2 separate regions of the Homo sapiens genome follow, and region 1 is linked to region 2. The links are contacts of gene promoters, found by promoter capture Hi-C in blood cells and fetal thymus (Javierre and others, 2016). All regions are on one chromosome and are shown on one strand. Each heading gives the region's core, a stretch centred on a gene start or on the middle of the fragment in contact. The rest is flanking DNA. Distances are from core to core; before and after follow the strand shown. Region 1 holds the start of CYP27B1 (cytochrome P450 family 27 subfamily B member 1). Region 2 holds the start of AVIL (advillin).

What was found. Contacts are between HindIII fragments. The CHiCAGO score rates a contact against its expected background, and 5 or more counts as called.
Region 1: the fragment with the promoter of CYP27B1 here is called in contact with the fragment with the promoter of AVIL in region 2 in 5 of 17 cell types (M0 macrophages, M1 macrophages, M2 macrophages and 2 more); the score reaches 11.2 in M0 macrophages.

Annotation. Positions count from the first base shown.
Region 1 is chr12:57,765,817-57,772,199 of GRCh38, reverse strand. CYP27B1 (cytochrome P450 family 27 subfamily B member 1) reads left to right here and starts at 5,122. Exons shown (of 9, transcript NM_000785.4): 1 at 5,122-5,353; 2 at 6,003-6,193. The coding sequence starts at 5,159. It overlaps METTL1 (methyltransferase 1, tRNA methylguanosine), which reads left to right and starts at 95. Exons shown (of 6, transcript NM_005371.6): 1 at 95-226; 2 at 943-1,106; 3 at 2,244-2,428; 4 at 2,522-2,635; 5 at 2,796-2,897; 6 at 3,049-3,729. The coding sequence starts at 117. The coding sequence ends at 3,204. RefSeq lists enhancers at 62-351, 37-1,236. The HindIII fragment of the contact is 11,205 bases long and covers 4,239-6,383 here.
Region 2 is chr12:57,813,054-57,820,111 of GRCh38, reverse strand. AVIL (advillin) reads left to right here and starts at 1,378. Exons shown (of 20, transcript NM_006576.4): 1 at 1,378-1,483; 2 at 4,053-4,137; 3 at 5,886-5,960; 4 at 6,689-6,885. The coding sequence starts at 4,072. It overlaps CTDSP2 (CTD small phosphatase 2), which reads left to right. Exons shown (of 8, transcript NM_005730.4): 8 at 1-185. The HindIII fragment of the contact is 1,940 bases long and covers 1,256-3,195 here.

The DNA.
Region 1 (6,383 bases), core at 3,873-6,372, 52 kb after region 2:
GCTCTTGGGTCTTTAAGGGGCGGGAACTGCCACCAACGCGCATGGCTGCGTCATTAACTTGCGCCTCTGGCCTGCGCCTCCACGTGGATTTGGTAGAGAAACCCCGGACTGGGATCATGGCAGCCGAGACTCGGAACGTGGCCGGAGCAGAGGCCCCACCGCCCCAGAAGCGCTACTACCGGCAACGTGCTCACTCCAACCCCATGGCGGACCACACGCTGCGCTAGTGAGGAGTGGGCAGAGGGAGAGAGAGGAGGGCGGGATTCTCAAAGCAGCCGGGAGAGCAGTTGTGCTGCAACTGCTGGGAGGATTTGGGGTAGACCCGGGAGGATCAGATGGGTGACGTCAGTTTTTGGGGGTGGGACCGGGAGATTCGACCGAGAGAGGAGTTGGCGGGTTGAGAGTGGGCGTGGCGTTCGGGCCTAAGTCTGGGTAGCGGTGCTAAGTTTGGGAAGAGAAATAAATTGTTACTGAGACTGAAGTGATAGAGGCAGAATGTCGTTTCCATCTTTTGCTTTTGTTTGTTGGATTTAATAAAAAGGCAAACATATACACAATCCTGCCCGCACCTTACCTTACCTTCCCTCCCCGCAGAGCACAAACACAAAGTAGGATCCCAGTGCATTAGGCAGCCAGTCTCGGGAGAAGGGGAACTTGTGCCCCAGAAAGGGCAGTTACCCGGCCAGGGTCACATCAACCGCCAGAAGTGGAGTTGGGCAGGTCAGCGTTTATGGGCCTCATGATGGTCCTATGATTCACACTGGGAGTTAAGGGTGGTTTCCATTGTCCCTCTTAGAGGCCACAGGGCCCAGTGTTACAGAATTTTTGAGAAACCCTCCTCCCTTTTACCTCCCACCCTCACCCACCCACACACTCTCACAGTACCACTTCTGCAATGGTGTGACCAACCTTCTCATGCTTCTTATGTCTTCTTTCCAATAGCCCTGTGAAGCCAGAGGAGATGGACTGGTCTGAGCTATACCCAGAGTTCTTCGCTCCACTCACTCAAAATCAGAGCCACGATGACCCAAAGGATAAGAAAGAAAAGAGAGCTCAGGCCCAAGTGGAGTTTGCAGACATAGGCTGTGGCTATGGTGGCCTGTTAGGTAACACTCAGGCCCTCTTTTTGGGGTGAGAAGAGGCCTAGTAGCTTCTGCTGCCTCAGCAACTTTTGTGGGGGGTCATAATTGGCCTTTCCCCTTTCGTCCAGACACTGGTGACATCAGCATGGAGAGGCTCCACCTACCCTCTACTCTGGGTCTGTGACCTTTGCCCTGGAGAGTGGAGGGGGCTGCCTCAAATGCTTCTTAAAACCTGGGTTGTCCTTTCTGGCGTCAATCCCTACATGAGCCATTTCATCTGCCAGGTTCCGGGTCAGTGAGCTGGTCAGCACAAGCATCAGAGATTAGCCGTTGTGGCCAGTGATCCTGAACTGTCTTTTCTCAGAGATTCTACCATCTCCCCTCCCCTTTGCCCCTCCCTCGCCAGATCTCATTCCTTCTGCCCCACTCTCCTGTTTTTTGGGTTCCTCTTGTATTGTCTGTATTGTCCCACCCATGCATGCCAAGCCACTCCCTATTTTTAGATCTTCCCAAACAGATAACAGCCTGATAGAGAAGAAGAGCATGGTACATAGAGGCAGAAAACCTTGGTTTAAGGTCCAGTTCTGCCTGGGCACAGTGGCTCACACCTGTAATCCCAACACTTTGGGAGGCTGAGGCAGGTGGACCACTTGAGGCCAGGAGTTCAAGACCAGCTACTCAGGAGGCTGAGGCAGGAGAATTACTTGAACCTGGGAGGCAGAGATTGCAGTGAGCCAAGATTGTGCCACTGCACTCCAGCCTGGGTGACAGAGCAAGACTCCATCTCAAATAAATAAGTTCCAGTTCTGCCCCTTCTTAACTCTATGATCTTCGGCATATCTGACCCTCAGTTTCCTTATCTTCACAATTTACCACAGAGTGTTATAAGGATGAAATAACACAATGTGTGAAAACACTGTGGAAAACTCTAAAGCAATGGCAAATATACATGTATCCTCAGCCCTCCCATTCTGGTCCTGGTGACAATTTTCATTTCTCCCCCCGCCTCTTGAGCATAAAACTATCCATATATGTATCTCTGTCCTCTCTTGCCGTTCTGGACTTTGGTAGTTGCAGGTTGAGGCTTCCTTTCCTGTGTTGACCCCTTTGCACTTCCTACAAGTATATGGTTGATGATTCCATTGCTATTTCTGTGTGCAGTGGAACTGTCACCGCTGTTCCCAGACACACTTATTCTGGGTCTGGAGATCCGGGTGAAGGTCTCAGACTATGTACAAGACCGGATTCGGGCCCTACGCGCAGCTCCTGCAGGTGGCTTCCAGAACATCGCCTGTCTCCGTAGCAATGCCATGAAGCACCTTCCTAACTTCTTCTACAAGGGCCAGGTGGGGAGGGGCCCTGGTGGGTTAGGCTGGTAGGCAGGTGGGGGCATGGAGGCCAGGCTCTCACAACCCTGTTGGTGTGTGTCTGTCTCACAGCTGACAAAGATGTTCTTCCTCTTCCCCGACCCACATTTCAAGCGGACAAAGCACAAGTGGCGAATCATCAGTCCCACCCTGCTAGCAGAATATGCCTACGTGCTAAGAGTTGGGGTGAGTTGGGATCGGAGGGATGATGGGGTGAGTGGCCTACTCAGGGGCCCTTCACTAAGAATTCAGTGGGGGTGCATTTAGGGACTCACACCACCACTTCCTTCATCTGGCTGCTGACGTTGCATGCAGCCTCCTGTCTAGGGTGATTTTGCCTATGCAGGGGCTGGTGTATACCATAACCGATGTGCTGGAGCTACACGACTGGATGTGCACTCATTTCGAAGAGCACCCACTGTTTGAGCGTGTGCCTCTGGAGGACCTGGTGAGTAGGGGACCTAGAGGAGGTGGAGGCCCTTTCCAGAGTGGTTCTGTATTTGGACTTAACTCAGTGCCAGGAGGATGGGATAGGTGTCTAAGGGCCAGGGGCAGTCTGAACAGTGGGCAAGGACTTATTGGACCCTTCCTTCTCCCAGAGTGAAGACCCCGTTGTGGGACATCTAGGCACCTCAACTGAGGAGGGGAAGAAAGTTCTACGTAATGGAGGGAAGAATTTCCCAGCCATCTTCCGAAGAATACAAGATCCCGTCCTCCAGGCAGTGACCTCCCAAACCAGCCTGCCTGGTCACTGACTGCTTACTCTACCTTAGCTGGACCTCGTCTCCCAGGGATTAGAGAAAAGAGCAGGAGTCCTGGGTCTTCCCAGTTGAGACTGCTGGAGCTGAGACACAGTACTCTCTTAAAGAAGGTGGGGAGCTGCCCAGGGCAGAACCCACTGGTGTTCATGACTACCCCTGGCTCCTCTCACCTTGTCCCTCCACTGCCAACAGAAAACAAAGCAGCTGACTGAGATGGTCAAAGGACTTTGGACCATAGGGGATCTTTGGAAGGCTGTGGGGTCTTGCTCTTCCTTAGCACTCCTTTCTCCTTGTGAGATCTCTCCTCAGCTGGAATGAGGAATGTAGTCCATCTAAACTGCTTGCTAGGCTCAATTACCACTTCTGTTTGCTTTGTGGATCCTGGGATAACATGTATATGTGTACACATGCCTATTCTGCCATTTCTCAGGAAAGGGTGGAGTATGTATCATATGCCTTCTACCATCCTCCTGTCCTCTCCCTGCGTAAGACTTGACCTGGGGAATCTGTGTTCCCTAAGTGTTGTCTCTGGAGAGTCCTTGGGAAGGTGTGGGGGTGGAGACCCTCTCCTTTTTCACATTGACCTTCAATTCCAGAACTTCAGAGCTAGCTGACTGGCACAGAGCCTGATAGAGTTGCAGTGGGGAATGAGGGAGTAAGGAGCAGAGAGGTAAACTGTGGGAGATTCTTTTATTTTAATTTTTTTTAGAGACAGGCCCTCTCTCTGTTGCCTAGGCTGGAGTGCAGTGGTACAATCATAACTCACTGCAGCCTTGACCTCCCGGGCTCATGTAATCCACCTCAGCCTCTCAAGGCACTACAGGCATACGCCACCATGCCTGGCTAATTTTTGTATTTTTTGTAGAGACAGTTCCACTATGTTGCCCAGGCTGGTCTCAGACTCCTGAGCTCAAGCAGTCTGCCCACCTTAGCCTCCCAAAGTGTTGGGATTACAGTCATGAGCTGCCGTGCCCAGCCTAATTTTTAAACTTCTTCTGTAGAGACAGTCTTGCTATGTTGCTCAAGCTTGTCTCAACCTCCTGGCCTCATGCCATCCTCCTGCCTCAGCCTCCCAAAGTGCTGGGATTATAGGCATGAGCCACCACAGGATTCTGAGGCTAAAAGTAGAAAGGAGCTGCTAACCAGAAAGCCCCCCAGAGGAGACCGAGTCAGCTGGGGAATTAGAACATCCACATCCATTTAGCTCCTCTAACACCCCACAGACAATCTCTGAACTTAACTAATGTACAAAAAGTTTCATTTCTGCTTCTCAAGCCCCAAATTCCCATGTCTGGAAGGAGGGGGCTTGTATACCCAAGAGACCCCCTTATCCTCAAGAAAGAAAGATGGAGGTTCTAGGAGCCATTTTAGCCCATTAACCCACCTGCCATCTGCCCAGTATATGTTAGGTACAGGAGGAGGGGGAGGTGTGGCTAGTGCAGGAAAATAATGCAGAGAAGATACAACCCACTAAGCCAAGAATGTGGGGACAGTTACAGCTGTGCCTCCCCTGCTTCCCTTCCTGGAGGAGCTGAAAGATGGGGAATTCCTGAGGATGGGCCTAAAGGGGCTGGGCTCACTGGTAGAAGTGGGAATATCAGAGACTGACTAGTGTAGCTTGGTCACCTAGTCCCTACTAAAAAGCCTTATAGCCTTTCCTAGGATGAGACTTTGAGGCTCCTAGACAAAGGCACTCTCCCAGGAGGAAAATCTTAGGCCCTCCCTCCCATGAGGGTCATTGCAACATGAGACCCAAGGGAGTTGTGAAGTCAGCCCCAGCCCCGCCTACTGTTCCTGGGTGCTAATCCCCAGCACAGACCACTCAGGAGGAGGGATTGGCTGAGGAGCTTGGAGAGGGGGCGTCATCACCTCACCCAAAGGTTAAATAGGGGTTGAGATATGATGCTCAGGAGAAGCGCTTTCTTTCGCGAGCACCCTGAACCAGACCATGACCCAGACCCTCAAGTACGCCTCCAGAGTGTTCCATCGCGTCCGCTGGGCGCCCGAGTTGGGCGCCTCCCTAGGCTACCGAGAGTACCACTCAGCACGCCGGAGCTTGGCAGACATCCCAGGCCCCTCTACGCCCAGCTTTCTGGCCGAACTTTTCTGCAAGGGGGGGCTGTCGAGGCTACACGAGCTGCAGGTAGGAAGGGACGCCTTTCCCGAGACAGAGTGCTGGGGAAACTGGTTTTGACAGCGTCAGAAAGGACTGACTAGTGCAGAGCAAATGTGGGACAGCCAGAGAGAACGGATGCCCATGAAATAAGGAAAAGGCGAGTTGAGGCTGGGGGCGGTGTGGCTACACTCGGGCAGAGCCCGTCCCGACTCTTAGCAGAGGGCGCTGCGAAAGCGCCTTCTCGCTGTCCTGAGGTGTGGAGATCCTGCAGATAAAGTACAAGTGCGCGGGAGGGGGAGGCCGGAGTGGGCAGTACCCTCCGCCTGCTTGCGGCTTAAAGCTACATGGGTTCCTTTTCATTCACTGAGGACTCGTCCTGAGATGGACAGTCCAGACATGGAACTTTTAGAGATTTCTCCTCGACCGAGATGATCAGAGAGGTCCTGAATGTCTGCCTTGCACAAAGTTCCGGTTTTGCCCATCACACTCAAACTTTCTAGGGATGGGAAATGAGAGAGGAGGAGTTTGCAGTATCAAAGGCATACACTAGTTGGGCACCCGAGAAAGAGCAGAAGCTCCCTATTCCCAAGCCCAGTCAACGCCCTTGGCGTGGGCACAGGTCAAGCTGAAAGTCCCCGCCCAGGTATCCAAGTGTCCGCTGTGTCCGCTCCCCCAGGTGCAGGGCGCCGCGCACTTCGGGCCGGTGTGGCTAGCCAGCTTTGGGACAGTGCGCACCGTGTACGTGGCTGCCCCTGCACTCGTCGAGGAGCTGCTGCGACAGGAGGGACCCCGGCCCGAGCGCTGCAGCTTCTCGCCCTGGACGGAGCACCGCCGCTGCCGCCAGCGGGCTTGCGGACTGCTCACTGCGTGAGTCTTCTCTGCCCCCAGAAGCCCAGACGCCCTGCAGCGGCCCTCTCCTGCTGCGGGTCCCGAAACTATCAATCTGGGGGCATGGTGGGAGGTCGGCTGTCCCACTCTACCATTGGGCATCTTGGGGTTCCCATCCCAGTCTGCTTCACCCACACTCAGGTTGAGCCCCAACCTCACTCCCCGCCTA
Region 2 (7,058 bases), core at 129-2,628:
TGCTTCCCACTGTGACTGGGCTATGGGATTCTGACTACCTTGCTTACAGATTCATGGTTTGATAAATTTGTTGTATTCAAAAACTTGAAATGCAGGACGCCATTAAGTGTCTGTTTATATTTTTGGAATATTTGTATTACTTACAATTAATTAATAAAAGTGGGTTTAAAAAACCTTTCCAGGAATGTGAGCTGCCACCAACCTTCATTGGCCCTTAAGTGTTCACTGGGCCCATGGCAAGCACCGCCTTTCTTCTCGCAACCCCTTCCATCATGAAGCAGCTGCACCCCCGGGCTGAGTGGGGTGTTGCACCCACCGGGAGGCCAGCTGCAGATGCCACACAGGGCTTCCGCTCAAGGTTACACAAGTTCTGCTGTGATCAACCCCATTGCAGTCAGGTGCTTAGCACGTGTATATGCTTGATGTCCTATTGACTTCTGGGCATGAACCAGAAGCCCTAAGGGAATGGATTATTATTTTTTTTTTTTTTTTTGAAATGGAGTCTTGCTCTGTTGCCCAGGCTAGAGGCAGTGGCATGATCTCAGCTCACTGCAACCTCCACCTCCCAGGTTCAAGCGATTCTCCTGCCTCAGTCTCCTGAGTAGCTGGGATTACAGGCGCCTGCCAGCACGCCCGGCTCATTTTTGTATTTTTAGTAGAGATGGGGTTTCACCATCTTGGCCAGGCTGTTTTCAAACTCCTCACATTGTGATCCACCCACCTCAGCCTCCCAAAGTGCTGGGATTACAGGCGTGAGCCACCACCACACCCAGCCCTGGGAATGGAGTCTTGATTCTTCTCTGCCCCTCACTGATTCTTCCAAACTGGAAACCCTGAAGCTGAGAGCCCAGCATGGTTCCTGGCAAACAGCAGGCACTCAAATATTGATTGGTTTACTGTATGACTAGTAGAGACCCCAACGAGCAAAACTGTGGCCTAATAAAATTCTGGCTCCTCTCCCAGACTTCCCCTCCCTTTGAGAAATGCCAGAAGCTTCTTAGGGAGGCTCTTGCCAACCTAGACATCACAGGCACTCATGGGGCAGCTCCAGCCTCTTCCTCCTGTCATCACCATAATGCATCCATATCTACAATATGGCAAATTTCATATCCTTCCAACCTCTTTCCTGCATTATTGATGGGCTGTGTGCACTTTTTAAAAAATCAATTAGATCAGGGCGTGGAGCTGGAGTTCAAAGAAGCCTTTAAAAGTCTGCTCTTCTGTTTTGCTGTTTTGAATAGGCACAGATAAAGCTTTCCCTCTGGTTTGAATAAGCCAAGCTCAGTGCTAGGTTGGCTCTGATTGGCCAGGACTAGGAAAATGCGGTTAAGATGCAAACACAAGCAAATATAACCCAGTATCTCTGCGGCCATTACTAAGCTAAGGCAGCAGGACCTGGAGCCTCCTGCTTTGGAGTGGTTCTTCAATACTGCTGCTGCTTACGCGCCGGGAAACTGGGAAGGCTGGTGAGCGAGAAGGCAAGGTAAGGTCTCTGATTTACGGGGGCATGCCAGTTAATCCTCCTGAATGAGGAAGAAATGAAAGGAAGAGGAGCTTGAGAGTCCCTTGGCTTTGTCTTCTGAGATGAGGCTTTTAAAATGAACCAGGAGTCTGGCTGGCCAGTTTTGCAAACTTCTTGTTCAGAAGAACCCCTTAGAGGCAGCTGAACATATAGGGCACATTTTCAAAAGCTGGGAAAGACAGACCCCTTTCACCTATCCCTAGAGAAAGATGGTATGGAGCAAGGCAGGAGGAGTTAAAACCAGCTTCCTGGCCCAGAGAGGTGGCTTACACCTGTAATCCCAACACTTTGGGAAGCCAGGGCATGAGGATTGTTTGAGCCCAGGAGTTTGTAACTTGTGACCATCCTGGGCAACATAGTGAGACCCTGTCTCTACAAAAAAAAAAAAAAAAAAAAAAAAAAAAAAAGCCAAGCATGGTGGTGCACACCTGTGGTCTCAGCTTCTCAGGAGGCTGAGGCAGAAGGATCACTTGAGCCCAGGAGGTGGCGGTTGCAGTGAGCCGTGATTGTACCACTGCACTCCAGCCTGGGTGACAGAGCAAGACCCTGTCTCAAAAACAACAACAACAAAAAACAGCTTCCTCTGCTCAGGGTCCGTCCAAAAGGGCATCTCTGAGAATTACAGGCCACTGGCTTTTAACCTGACATTTCAAAACTGTGCCCCACACCCAAGGGGTTTCTGCAGTCCTCTCAAAGGATACTGAATTAGGATTTAGGGAGAAGGAGAGACCCAGCTTTGGGAGATTTGATGTCAGAACTGTGTTTTCTGTGTGTTCCAGTGTGACAGGAAGTCCCTTCCTGGAGCTTATCCTCTCGCATTCGGGGTGCCTGGCCCAGGGAGCTCCTTGATTCCTAAATTCCTGCTGGGAAACGGGACAGGTTTCAGCCTCTGAGGCTCACAGTCCTAATTGCTGCCGGCTGGTTTGGCTTTTACCAGGGTGACAGTTCTCTGTCTCCAAGGAATGAATTCAGTGGCCCTTGTCCCCTTCCCCTAGTTGGCTCATGGCTTTTGCCTTTAATGACTGCTACGTAGGGTCTGAAGAAAACCCAAACACCATATTTCCTGGCAATTCTGAGCAGCACAGGGTGGGGCAGCACAAGTTATCAAATTAAATTCTCAAACACTGGCTGCTCCGCACCATTGCCTTGCTTTAGTCCTGCTACAGCAGTAGACAAAGCGAGTCTGCTTTGAGCTTTATGGTTTTTTGCCAAAGTCCATACTAGATGGCGCATGCTCTCCAAACTTGGCTTTGTCCATCAAGGTTCAAGAAAACAATGGTCAGACATGTTCCTCTTAACAAACAGTATGTCCCCAAACAGCAAAAATGCATACAGTCCTTTCTGGGTGAATTTTTAAATCTTACATAAATCCATCAACCCCATCCTTTTTCCTTTGCCTCTTGGGAGAAATTAATCTAGCTTTACATTAATTATGCATGTTATCAGATTTCAAGCTCCTTGAGAGCAGGTATTTTAATTCTATAAAGCCTCTACGTGGCCTTGGACATGGGTAGGTGCTTAATTACCCAAGATGCTCCTTGAATACAGATGGTACACGACCTACACAGACTTAGATCTTTACCACTTCCCCCCTCTCCCCACCCTGACTTGCTCAATCCTGAAGGAACTGGAGACGTCTAAGTGTCTGAGGTTCACGCTTCCACACAGAAGCTTGGGTCTGTGTGGGAGGGAAAAAGGAAGCCATCTGTCCGCAGGCCAGACCAGGCCACACCCTGCTAGCACCCAGAACCCTTTGTCCCAGGCCCAGCCCTGCCATTTTACTTTCCTTGCATCTGGAAAGCACAGGGAATATAGTAGTGACAAAAGAAGGAAGGGTTGTTTGAGTTTAAGAATAGTTTACTCTAAAAAAAAAAAAAAAAAAAAAAAAAGGACAAAAGCCAAAGAGAAGGTCAAAGTTGACTGTGGAGAAGGCCTTGCAAGCAGGGAACTTGGGAAGAATTGGAATGAGAGTGAGAGAAGGCAACTGAGTTTGGAAATATTTTTTCTGACTAGCTTTTCTTTCCAAATGCCACTGAACTTAGATTGGTTTAGGAAGGGTTGTAGTACATCAAAGTGGCTAGAAGCACAGGTTTGGGGATCAGATAAGGATTTCATTCTAGAGTGTGATCTTGTACAAGTTATTCAGCCTTTGCAAACCTCAGATTCACACAATGTAAGATGAAGAAACTCACCTTCTGAAAATTAGAGATAACATATGCAAAGTGAATCAATACAGGGCTTAACATATTTATCACCCCTTTGGTAAATAACCATGACGATTACCAGAGCTCTTAAGGGCAATGGCAGGTGGGAAGCAGAACTCATGGGTGGTAATCCCCAGGCCAGCCAGGCTCACCATGTGCACTTGGACAAGTCCTTGCCCCCATCATTGTGAAATGGTGCAGGGATGCACCATGAGGGTGTGGCAGGATGGCTGACAACAGACTGGGAAGCAGCTCGGCAGAAAAACTGGATTGATGCCCACTATGGCAAGAGATATCATCTCCCCTCTTGTTCTGTGATGTTTCAGTCCTGGAAAGACAAGCATCATGCCTCTGACCAGTGCCTTCAGGGCTGTGGACAACGACCCTGGGATCATTGTCTGGAGAATAGAGGTGAGCTGGGCTGGAGGCACCTTACTTGTGACCACTGGCATCTGGAAGCAGTCTGGCTGCCTGGGGCTGCTAGGCAACAGCCCGCCAGCACCCCTTAGCCTATGGTTTGAGGAGAATGAGAGGCAGCATCAAAGTACCTATTTCCCATCCTTCACCTCTCCTGGGTGCTCAAAGCAGGTGGTTGGCAGGTGGAGGAAATGTTCAGCCCCGAAGAACAGGGCTCCAGACAAAAACAGGCTTGTCCTTTAGCCAGCCACCTGCTCAGTGAGTCTGCACTTGCAGGAAACACCCTGGAAAGACAGGTGGGACCTACTCAGCAGACTCCTGGCAGCTTCCATCAGAGAAATGGAACATGTCTTCCACGGGGCACCCTGGCTCCTACAAAATATGGGGAGAGGTGAGGGGGCACTGCAGAGATGAGGAGCTGTTCAGCCCGTCTCCTCTTGGGCTTGGGACCCTCTGTGCGGCTGTGAGCTCCAGCAATCCATAGCTGGGAACCACCCTGGCCTGGGTAGCTCCACCTGCCAGATACGAGGATTCCCCCCAACCCCTGCCCTGAGCCCAGTCAGTTGCTGCTGCCTAAAACCCAGCGATGATGCCTCACTTCACTATCCTCAACCAGGAGGGGGAGTCAGCTCTCCAGCAAGCCTCGCAGAGATTGTGAGTCCCAGGTCACTTCCACTGTTTGAAGGCTTCCAGTTTCCTTAAAAACTAACAGGTACTGGCGGGGTGCGGTGGCTCACGCCTGTAATCCCAGCACTCTGGGAGGCTGAGGCGGGTGGATCACGAAGTCAGGAGATTGAGACCATCCTGGCTAACACAGTGAAACCCCACCTCTACTAAAAATACAAAAAATTAGCTGGGCATGGTGGCAGGCGCCTATAGTCCCAGCTACTCAGGAGGCTGAGGCAGGAGAATGGCGTGAACCCGGGAGGCGGAGCTTGCAGTGAGCCGAGATCGCGCCACTGCACTCCAGCCTGGGAGACACAGGGAGACTCCCTCTCAAAAAAAACAAAAACAAAAACAAAAAACAAGTACTAAAACACGGTTACCAGATTTGCAGTATATTTAACATTTATCACATTTTACATAGAACACACACAAGTATGGCCGCAAGTTTCCCTCACTTGGGGAGTGTGATGAAAATCTACATCAAGGCTGTGTGAACAGTCCTCCAGGGCCAAGCCATACATGCAGTGATAAATCAGGGCCCTGACCCAGACTCCAAATATAAGACACTTGGCACAGAGCCCTGCTGACCGCTGGCACTCTCCAAATGTTATCCTCCACCTCCCACGGCCCCACAGAATCCAAGTGTTCTTTCTTACATGGGCCTGGGCCAGCACCCAGTGGTCAGCGTTGGGAAGAGCGTTGGAGGTGCTGGCACAACGGCTCAGAGAAGGGTTTGTACTTGGTCGTTTATATCCAGCAAAGGGCTGGAGGTGGTTCACAGGTTTCCCACAATAGTGCGAGATGAGATCGGGTGGGAAGTAGAGTGGAGAATAGGGCAAGGGAAAGCAGGATAGGGACCAAGGTTCAGATCCGGGGTGATGCAAGCAGAGCTCACAGAAGCCAGAGGGATGGCCACGTTAACCCTGTGGCTGGCAGCCTCACATCCTGTAAGGTCATTGAGAACATCTCCCCTCCTTCTCCCCACCACCTGCACCGAATGACAGAGAGGAGAGGGAGGCTCATGGGGAAGGGAGGTGGGAGGGGATGTAGCCTATACCCACCCCTTGTCCTTCCAGAAAATGGAGCTGGCGCTGGTGCCTGTGAGCGCCCACGGCAACTTCTATGAGGGGGACTGCTACGTCATCCTCTCGGTGAGCACCCTCCTCCCCACTCCTGTGAGCCTCTCCCCTGGGGCCAGTTCTTGGGCTGTACTGGGAGATGTGCTGGTGAGGGAAGGTAGTCAGTCCCTGGTATCGGTCTCAATGGTTCCTCAGTGCTATGCAGAGCAGACCTCCAGTCTGACTATCAAAGGCCATCATTAAGCCTGGGTTTTTAATGCTGCATAAGAGGATGGGGGTAGGACCCTCAGTCTGAACCTCAGTGAGCCACCCACAAGCAGCACTTCTCCCGGGCCTAGGCCCCACATTAAAGTGGTGTGGAAGAAGGCCTGATAAATGCAAGGCCTGTCTCTAGCCTCAAAGTGCTATTCTCATGGAGGAGACTCACATGAACGGTGCTGACAGGGTCGTGCAGGTGTACAGATGAGCACTGTGCCAGCTGTGTGAGTGCAAGGGACCAAGGGGACCTGTGAGGTAAGCCTGCAACCCGGCTGGGAAAAGATCCCCGTTGGTATCTATTTATTTGGGGAACAACAAGCTGTCAACTTTCCCCAAATGCGGGGAGGAATTTGGGCTGCCAAAGTTTATGCCATGATCGCAGGTCTGCTCGGGGGCCAGGGCAGCTCCCACATCCACTGCAGGAGAGAGGGCCCTCAGTCTGCCAAGGGCATGCACATGTGCTGCATTCTCCCCATAACAGGGGCCAGCAGCAAAGGGGAGGTGAGCTGGCCTCTGACCTGATCTCTCTGACTACCTCCCAGACCCGGAGAGTGGCCAGTCTCCTATCCCAGGACATCCACTTCTGGATCGGGAAGGACTCCTCCCAGGATGAGCAAAGCTGCGCAGCCATATATACCACACAGCTGGACGACTACCTGGGAGGCAGCCCTGTGCAGCACCGAGAGGTCCAGTACCATGAGTCAGACACTTTCCGTGGCTACTTCAAGCAGGGCATCATGTGAGTAGGGGTGCACAGAGCAAGGACAGAAACAGCAGTTTACAGAGGAGGAAACCCAAAAGGCCAACATGCATTATCAAGAAAGTAATCAGAGAAATGCAAATCAAAACAAAGCTGTCACTTCCACCCACTAGAGCAGCAGATTAAACAGCTGGGAGGTGCCAAGTGTTGGC